Regions from separate parts of the Homo sapiens genome. Here region 2 is linked to region 1. The links are contacts of gene promoters, found by promoter capture Hi-C in blood cells and fetal thymus (Javierre and others, 2016). All regions are on one chromosome and are shown on one strand. The core of a region is centred on a gene start or on the middle of the fragment in contact, and the rest is flanking DNA. Distances in the headings are between cores, read along the strand shown.

What was found. The method cuts DNA at HindIII sites, captures the fragments that hold promoters and counts their contacts. A CHiCAGO score of 5 or more calls a contact.
Region 2: a fragment that was not itself captured here is called in contact with the fragment with the promoter of TYROBP in region 1 in 2 of 17 cell types (neutrophils and fetal thymus); the score reaches 6.0 in neutrophils.

Annotation. Positions count from the first base shown.
Region 1 is chr19:35,906,053-35,910,420 of GRCh38, reverse strand. It overlaps TYROBP (transmembrane immune signaling adaptor TYROBP), which reads left to right and starts at 2,126. Exons shown (of 5, transcript NM_003332.4): 1 at 2,126-2,253; 2 at 2,659-2,691; 3 at 2,841-2,975; 4 at 3,157-3,203. The coding sequence starts at 2,193. RefSeq lists enhancers at 610-719, 820-869, 1,020-1,149 and a silencer at 2,961-3,114. The HindIII fragment of the contact is 5,164 bases long and covers 1-3,376 here.
Region 2 is chr19:35,605,210-35,609,577 of GRCh38, reverse strand. HAUS5-DT (HAUS5 divergent transcript) reads left to right here. Exons shown (of 2, transcript NR_186318.1): 2 at 775-1,189. Among named protein-coding and RNA genes, the nearest start is that of HAUS5-DT, 5.3 kb to the left of the region's middle. The HindIII fragment of the contact is 3,634 bases long and covers 821-4,368 here.

The DNA of each region.
Region 1 (4,368 bases), core at 877-3,376:
TCCGCCCACCTCGGTCTTCCAAAGTGTTGGATTACAGGCGTGATCCACCGCGCTTGGCCCTTTATTATTATTATCATTATTTTGAGACAGAGTCTTGCTGTGTCGCCCAGGCTGGAGTGCAGTGGCGCGATCTCAGCTCACTGTAACCTCCACCTTCCAGGTTCAAGGTATTGTCTTGCCTCAGCCTTCTGAGTAGCTGGGACTACAGGTGCCCACCACCATGCCCAGGTAATTTTTTGTATTTTTAGTAGAGACCGGGTTTCACCATGTTGGCCAGGATGGTCTCGATCTCCTGACCTCGTGATCCGCCCGCCTCAGCCTCCCAAAGTGCTGGGATTACAGGCATAAGCCACCGTGCCCAGCCTAATTTTTAGTAGAGATGGGGTTTCACCATGCTGGCCGGGCTGGTCTTGAACTCAACCAGGCATTATTCTAATAGACCTCACAATATCCTCACAAATATCCCAGCAGCCTGGCCTCCCTGCTCCAGTCCCTGCCTCCACAGTCTGCTCCCCACCTGCGGCCGGAGGGAACCTGTGAACCCCTGAGTCAGGTCAGGGCCCTCCTGGCTCAGAGCCCTGCTCTGGTCTCTGACTGCCCCCTCGCCCACTCTGCTCCAACACATTGGGTGGCCTGGTGTGCCCGGGAGGACCTACAGGGTCTGTTCCCTCCATGCTCGCTCTAGACACAATGGGAGAGGCTTGGGTTTTTAAGGGAGGGGACTCAGCCAGGCCTGAACAGTGGTGACCGTGGGCTGAGCTGGGACCTGACCCTCCTCCAGGCTCCAAATCTCCTCTCCTCCCTTCCCCCACAGGCCACTGGGCATCTGCCCTGTGACCAGAATCCAGTTTCCCCTTTTTTCTCCTAAGCCCAGGCCCAAGGAGCGGTGGGTGTGACGTGTGGATGGGGGAGGGGGGCTTCCTGCAGCTGTCTCATCCTCCAGCACCCTAACCTCAGGTTCCTCCTTCCCCAGCCCCAGGCTCCAGCTGGGGGCTAGAAGTCCCCGTCTCCTTGGGGTGGCCTCCCTTGGGCCTTGCTCCCAGCCACTTCCTCATTCAGCAGGAGAGCCAGCCACCTGCCTCTCCCCAAGCCGCCAGCCGTGCCTCTGTGTCTGTGCCACTGCCTTACTCTCACCTTTCTCAGCTTTGCCGCTGTTTTCTCCTTCCCCATCTTTCATCTTTGTTTTTCCCCCTGACTCTTCCCTAGTCAAAAACCTGATTTTGGGTCTTGGGTTCCATTTCCACCTTGATTTGCTGTGCAGCCTTAGGCAAGCGTCTCTACCTCTCTGAACAATGGGGATGATAAGAGCATGTGCCCTAGAAGGGCATTGCGGGGACTGAATGATTTAACGCTTGGGACAGAGTGCCTGCATGTCATTAGTGCCCACATGCTGCTGGCTCTTTTAATATCCTTTAAACAGCACAAGTTTCTGATGATTAAATAATCATCATCATAGCTGATGCTTTTAAAAAGCTGACAAGGGTCAGACCCTGGTCTAGGAACTTTAATTCATTTAATCCCCACAACTCTAAAAAGTAGGTCCCATTTTACTCCCAATTTTACAGATGAAGAAACTGAGGTTGGAGCTGGGTGCGGTGGCTCACACTTGCAATCCTAGCACTTCGGGAGGCCAAGGTGGGTGGATCACCTGAGGTCAGGAGTTTGAGACCAGCTGGCCAACATGGTGAAACCCTGTCTCTACTAAAAAAAAAAGAAAAAAAAATACAAAAAATTAGCCGGGCATGGTGGCAGGCGCCTATAATCCCAGCTACTTGGGAGGCTGAGGCAGGAGAATCACTTGAACCCGGGAGGCAGAGGTTGCAGTGAGCCGAGACCGTGCCATTGCACTCAAGGTTGACCAGCCAGGAAGAGGCAGAGCTGGTTTCAATCAGCCAGAGGAAGGTCATGACACTGACCCTCCTGTTAAAACGATGTCTGACCCCTGACTGGGGACGGAGGTGAAGTTTGTGCTTCACGTACCCTTTGCCCTTCACGTCTAGTTGCTGGGGGCCTGTGGCATGGCCCCTGGGTGTCTGGGCCTGATTCTTTCTTGGGTTTTGTTTCTGTCTCTCCTCCCCTGTCTCCTCCTCCCTTCTGCCACCACCCGCCTCAGACTTCCTCCTTCACTTGCCTGGACGCTGCGCCACATCCCACCGGCCCTTACACTGTGGTGTCCAGCAGCATCCGGCTTCATGGGGGGACTTGAACCCTGCAGCAGGCTCCTGCTCCTGCCTCTCCTGCTGGCTGTAAGTGGTGAGTTAGGGGCTTCCGTGGCTGCCTCCCGGGTCCCTGGGCTCAGCTTGGGGCAGGGCAGGGAGTGGGGTGGAACGAGAGAACCAAAAGTGGGTGTTGGGATGGGAGCAGGTCCCCAACCTCCCAAAGCCTGTGGGTTTCTCCCAGAGCCCAAGCCCCCAAGTTTTGTCGTCCGCTACAAGCAGGGGAGAAGAGACATCTAAGTGTGTTGCCACAGGACAAGTTGTGCAGAAGTAACGCACATAGTCCGGTGGCCCAGACGCCAGCCCCCTGAGTCCCGCCAGACACGCTCTCCCCCTTGCTAACCTCTTGGCTGTCAGGATCCACCTTCCCTGGCTTCTAAACTTGCCTCCCCCACCCCCGTCATAACTCTGTGCCTCAGTTTACCTTCTTTTTCCTCCTCAGGTCTCCGTCCTGTCCAGGCCCAGGCCCAGAGCGGTAGGCCTAGACCCAGCAGTCCCTCTCTCTACCTCCCAGAGACCTCCCTGTCTCCGTCTCTCCCACACCCTTTCCAAACCTCCCTGCCGCTGACCCCCCTCCCCACAGTTCCCAGCACACACTGACCTCCCCTGACCCCTGTGCTGCAGATTGCAGTTGCTCTACGGTGAGCCCGGGCGTGCTGGCAGGGATCGTGATGGGAGACCTGGTGCTGACAGTGCTCATTGCCCTGGCCGTGTACTTCCTGGGCCGGCTGGTCCCTCGGGGGCGAGGGGCTGCGGAGGGTGAGTGGGGCTAGCAGGGGACATCCTGAGGACTTGCCTAGATGGGGGTGGGGGGCTGGGTAAACTCCCAGATCTCAAACATCCAAAGGGATGGTAATGGAGGTGCTGATTTGGAATGACAAAACACCCTCAACTCACCACTCTGCCTGTCTCTGCACCCCACAACACCCCTCACCTCCAGCAGCGACCCGGAAACAGCGTATCACTGAGACCGAGTCGCCTTATCAGGTGAGAAAACCAGACTGTCCTCCTCACATTTCACTCCTGCCAGGGATATCTGCCCCAGATACTCCTTCATGCCATCAGAGGGACCTCAAAGCCACTCTGCCTAAAGCACCCCCAAACCTTGAAGGCACATGGGACATCTGTCCAAAACTGGGCCGAATGATCAACCACAAGCTTATGGTCAGCTTAAAATGTGTGAAGAGGGGCTGGGCACGGTGACTCAAACCTGTAATCCCAGCACTTTGGGAGACAGAGGCGGGTGGATCACTTGAGGTCAGGAGTTCGAGACCAACATGGTGAAACCCTGTCTCTACTAAAAATACAAAATTAGCTGGGCGTGGTAACGCATGCCTGTAATCCCAGCTACTTGGGAGGCTGAGGCAGGAGAATCCTTTGACCCAGGAGGCGGAGGTTGCAGTGAGCCAAGATCACGCAATTGCACTCCAGCCTGGGCAACAAGAGGAAAACTCTGTCAAAAAAAAAAAAGCGTGAAGAGTTAAAAAGAAAAAAAAAAGGGTGGCTTTGCCTTTGTAAGTGTAAACACAGGCCTTGCCAGAAGTCAGGCCAGGAATTTTCTGGAAGAAACCCAGCCCTAGGACGACTGATTTCTGGGAGACGCTCTCAGTAGGGCAGAGAATGTCATTCAGCCCTACCTTGGTAACTCTAAAGAGAGGAGTCCTAGAATCTCTTTTTTGGGTTTGAGGACCCTTCATCCCTTTGAGAAACTAAGAAAATCTAGACTCCCAGAAAAATCTACACAAAAAATACAAAATTGTGCATATAATCTGAGAGCAGTGTAAATGTTCTTTATAATTAAAAAAAATTTTTTTTTGGCCAGGCATGGTGGCACACACCTGTAATCCCAGCACTTTGGGAGGCCAAGGTGGGTGGATCACGAGGTCAGGAGTTCAAGACCAGCCAGGCCAGGATGGTGAAACCCCATCTCTACTAAAAATACAAAAATTAGCTGGGCATGGTGTCATGCGCCTGTAATTCCAGCTTCTCAGGAGGCTGAGGCAAGAGAATCGCTTGAACCCAGGGGGCGGAGGTTGCAGTGAGCCTGGGCGACAGAGTGAGACTCCATCTCAAAAAAAAAAAAAAGACAGGGGTCTCACTATGTTGCCCCAGCTGGTCTCAAACTCCCAGTCTCAAGTGATCCTCCCGCCTC
Region 2 (4,368 bases), core at 1,388-3,887, 300 kb after region 1:
GCTGGAACTCCTGGGCTTAAGTGATCCTCCTGCCTCAGCCTCCTTAGTAGCTGGGACTTGAGCCAATTCTCCCAGCTAGATTTTTTTCAGTTTTAATTTTTTGTAGAGACGGGGTCTCGCTATGTGGCCCAGGCTGGTCTCAAACTCCTGGCCTCAAGCAGTCCTCTCACCTTGGCCTCCCAAAGCACTGAGATTACAGGCATGAGCCATTATACCTGGCCACTTTCTGCTTTTATTTATTTATTTTTTTTGTGACAGAGTCTCCCTCTGTCGCCCAGGCTGGAGTGCAGTGGCACAATCTCGGCTCACTGCAACCTCTACCTCTTGGGTTCAAGCAATTCTCTGCCTCAGCCTCCCAAGTAGCTAGGATTACAGGCATGCACCATCATACCCGGCTAATTTTTGTATTTTTAGTAGAGACGGGGTTTCACCATGTTGGCCAGGCTGGTCTCAAACTCCTGACCTCAAGTGATCCACTTGCCTCAGCCTCCCAAAGTGCTGGGATTACAGGTGTGAGCCACTGCACCTGGCCTCACTTTCTGCTTCTTATGCTCAATGTCTCCTTGTTTTGGAGACATGTCACCATTTGTCCTTTTCTTGGTTCCTTTCTCATGGTATCTGTTCTGTTGGCCTTGGTGGGAGGTACTGGTGCCTTCCTGCTTTCTTAGATCCTGAAGGAGCAGAGCCCCTGTGGCCTCTTGGTCTTCTTCTGTCAGCATCTCTCTCCCTTTGCTTTATCTGAAATCTCTTTTCTGTTTTTCTGGATAATTTCAGGATGCTTTTTGGAACCCATCCACCATCTGAGAGATAATAAGAAGCTTCTCTAGGACTTGTGATTTTGGTTTCAGCAGCTCCTTCCACGTTTGAGAAGAGTCTTCTCATTTCTTACTCATAGAACATCCCATCAGACATTTCTCCTGATCCACATAGTAATTCAGGGATCCAGGCTTCTTCCATAAGGTGATTCAACCATCTTCTATGGGCTCAGAGTCTTTTGAATCCAGGCAGAAGAGAGAATAAGGAACTCGCACCTGCTTCTTGAAAGTCTTCACCCTAAAGTGACATACATCACTTCTGCTCTCAGTCCATTGAACATAACTTGTCTTATGGCTTCAACTAGCTGCAAGGGCCTCTGGGAAATGTAGTCCTGGTCTAGGCAGTCAATAAACATCCTGCTGGCTCTGCCACAGAAGGCCTTTCTAAGATGTTCTTTGAGCTGAGACGTGAGAGCCAAAGTGTGAGAGCTACTTGAAAACTGTGAAAATGGAGTTCCCAAAGTGGGAACAGCAAGTGGAAAGACCCTGATGCTGGAATGTGCTCAAAGGAACAGTAAGAAATGAGCTTCTGGCTGGGCGTGATGGCTCATGCCTGTAATCCCAGCACTTTGGGAGGCTGAGGCAGGTGGATCACCTGAGGTTAGGAGTTTGAGACTAGCCTGACCAACATGGAGAAACCCCGTCTCTACTAAAAATACAAAAAAATCAGCCGGGTGTGGTGGTGCATGCCTGTAATCTCAGCTACTTGGGAGGCTGGGGCAGGAGAATCGCTTGAACCCAGGGGGCAGAGGTTGTTGTGAGCTGAGATCGTGCCATTGCACTCCAGCCTGGGCAACAAAAGTGAAACTCCGTCTCAAAAAAAAAAAAAAAAAGAACTTTTATTTTGTGAGCTACTGAAATGGTGGGGTTTATTTGTTATAGCAGCTAGCATGACTCTAAATAATATACCTTGTAGACATCATTGCCCACTAGCTCAGTGTATCTCAAACTACTTGTAACTATGGAGAAGGATCATTTGTTTGATGTTTCCAACCTGTCATGGACCAATCCTTTTGGTCTCTACCCTGTTCAACAAGAAAATCCATTGATCCTATACTTGGATGTCATGGATATGTCAAATTGCTGTGTTTCTAAACACTTGCTGGCAATTTCCGTACTTATCTGGTGGCACACCATTGCAGACACCAGCTCGGTTGGGGAGACCCTAACCCACTGGTGCTAGAGGAATTAAACACACACACACAGAAATATAGAGGTGTGAAGTGGGAAATCAGGGGTCTCACAGCCTTCAGAGCTGAGAGCCCCGAACAGAGATTTACCCACATATTTAGTAACAGCAAACCAGTCATTAGCATTGTTTCTATAGATATTAAATTAAAAGTATCCCTTATGGGAAACGAAGGGATGGGCCGAATTAAAGGAATAGGTTGGGCTAGTTAACTGCAGCAGGAACACGTCCTTAAGACACACATCGCTCATGCTATTGTTTGTGGCTTAAGAATGCCTTTAAGTGGTTTTCCACTCTGGGCGGGCCAGGTGTTCCTTGCCCTCATTCCCGTAAACCCACAACCTTCCAGCTTGGGCGTTAGGGCCATTATGAACATGTCACAGTGCTGTGGAGATTTTGTTTGTGGCCAGTCTTGGGGTCAGTTTATGGCCATATTTTGGGGGGCTTGCTCCCAACACCATAATAGTTGCTGGACCAGTCCTGGCACCACTTTAGCTTCTTATTCTGTTTTATTTTTCTCTATAGCATTTACCATTCCCTGTAATTATCTTGTTTATTTTTGGGTATACTTGTTTATAGTTTTCTTTCCCACTAGAATGTAAGCTCCATCAGAGAAGAAGTTGGCCTTACTTCTCTTGCTCCGTTGTGTTCCTCGTTCCCAAGACAATGCCTGGGACACAGTAGGTGCTCAGAAAGTATTTGTTAAATAATGAGTATTTGTTAAATAAAAATCATGGCTGGGAACAGTGGCTCACGCCTATAATCCCAGCACTTTGGGAGGCCAAGGCAGACAGATTGGTTGAGCTCAGGAGTTTGAGACCAGTCTGGGCAGCATGGCAAAACCCTGTCTCTACAAAAAATATAAAAATTTGCTGGGCATGGTGGCATGCACCTGTAGTCCTAGCTACTCAGGAGGCTGAGGCATGAGAATCACTTGAACCTGGGAGCCAGAAGTTGCAGTGAGCTGAGATTGTGCCACTGCATTCCAGTCTGGGTGACATAGTGTGACCCTGTCTCAAAAAAAAATTTAATAAAATGAAATAAAAATAACAAGGAGGGTGGGGGGAAGGAGGCAATCCATATCTGTTACAGAGGCTCTCTACAATCAGAACCTGACCAGAACTCTAACCAGTTTGTTAACAGCCATTGAGATCCCCTCAAGAGCTGTGGTTTTTTGATAGACCATGGTAGCTCAGATTAGATGTCAACTGAAGAATCATGAGGTTTTGATATGGTTTGGCTGTCCCCACCCAAATCTCATCTTGAATTGTAGTTCCCCAAATCCCCATGTGTTGTGGGAGGGACCTAGTGGGAGGTAATCGAATCATGGGGGTGGTTACCCCCATGCTGCTGTTCTTGAGATAGTGAGTTCTCACGAGATCTGATGGTTTTATAAGGGGCTTTTCCCTCTTTGCTTGGCACTTCTCCTTCCTGCTGCCATCTGAGGAAGGACGTTTTTGCTTTCTTTTCCACCATGATTTTAAGTTCCCTGAGGCCTCCCCAACCCTGCGGAACTGTGAGTCAATTAAACCTCTTTCCTTTATAAATTACCCAGTCTTGGGCAGTTCTTTTCAGCAGCGTGAGAACAGACTAATACAGGTTTACAAATTTGGAAAGGAGAGCTTTATTTCTCATAAAGAGTTGCAGCCTGCAGCCGGGCCATCTCACAGGCCGAGAAGTGTAGCCTCCGGTAGAAGCTGAGAGCAGGCACCTCCAGTAAGGGAAGGATAAGGTCAGAGTTAACGCTGAATGGCTTGGCTCAGTATACATATTCAACAGGTTATAGGAGGAGCTATGAATATTCATGAAGGGAAGGTACAGCACATGTGTAGTAACATCCCATATTCACTTTTTTTTTTTTTTTTTTTTTTTTTTGAGATGGAGTCTTACTCTGTCACCCAGGCTGTAGTGTAGTGGTGCGATCTCAGCTCACTGCAACCTCTCTTTCCCAGGGTTCAAGCAATTCTCCTGCCTCAGCCTCATGAGTAGCTGGGATTACAGGCACCCATCACCATGCCTGGCTAATTTTTTTATTTTTAGTAGAGACAGGGTTTCACCATGTTGGCCAGGCTGGTCTCAAACTCCTGACCTCAGGTGATCCGCCCACCTTGGCCTCCCAAAGTGCTGGGATTACAGGCGTGAGCCACCGTGCCAGGCCCCATGTTCACTTTGGAGTGGAGACTTAACACTTAAATGTATTACAATTAGGCCCTATACATCAAAAGGTGATGCAGAGGACACAAAGGCCCTTTGTGTGCAGCCTCTGTAGACTGGCCAGAGCCACACCCCGTGGTTAGGTGGCCTCTGATCAGGAAGGAATGCTGGTCAGTTGTTATGTTGAAACCACAAAAGGGAGGAGCAGCC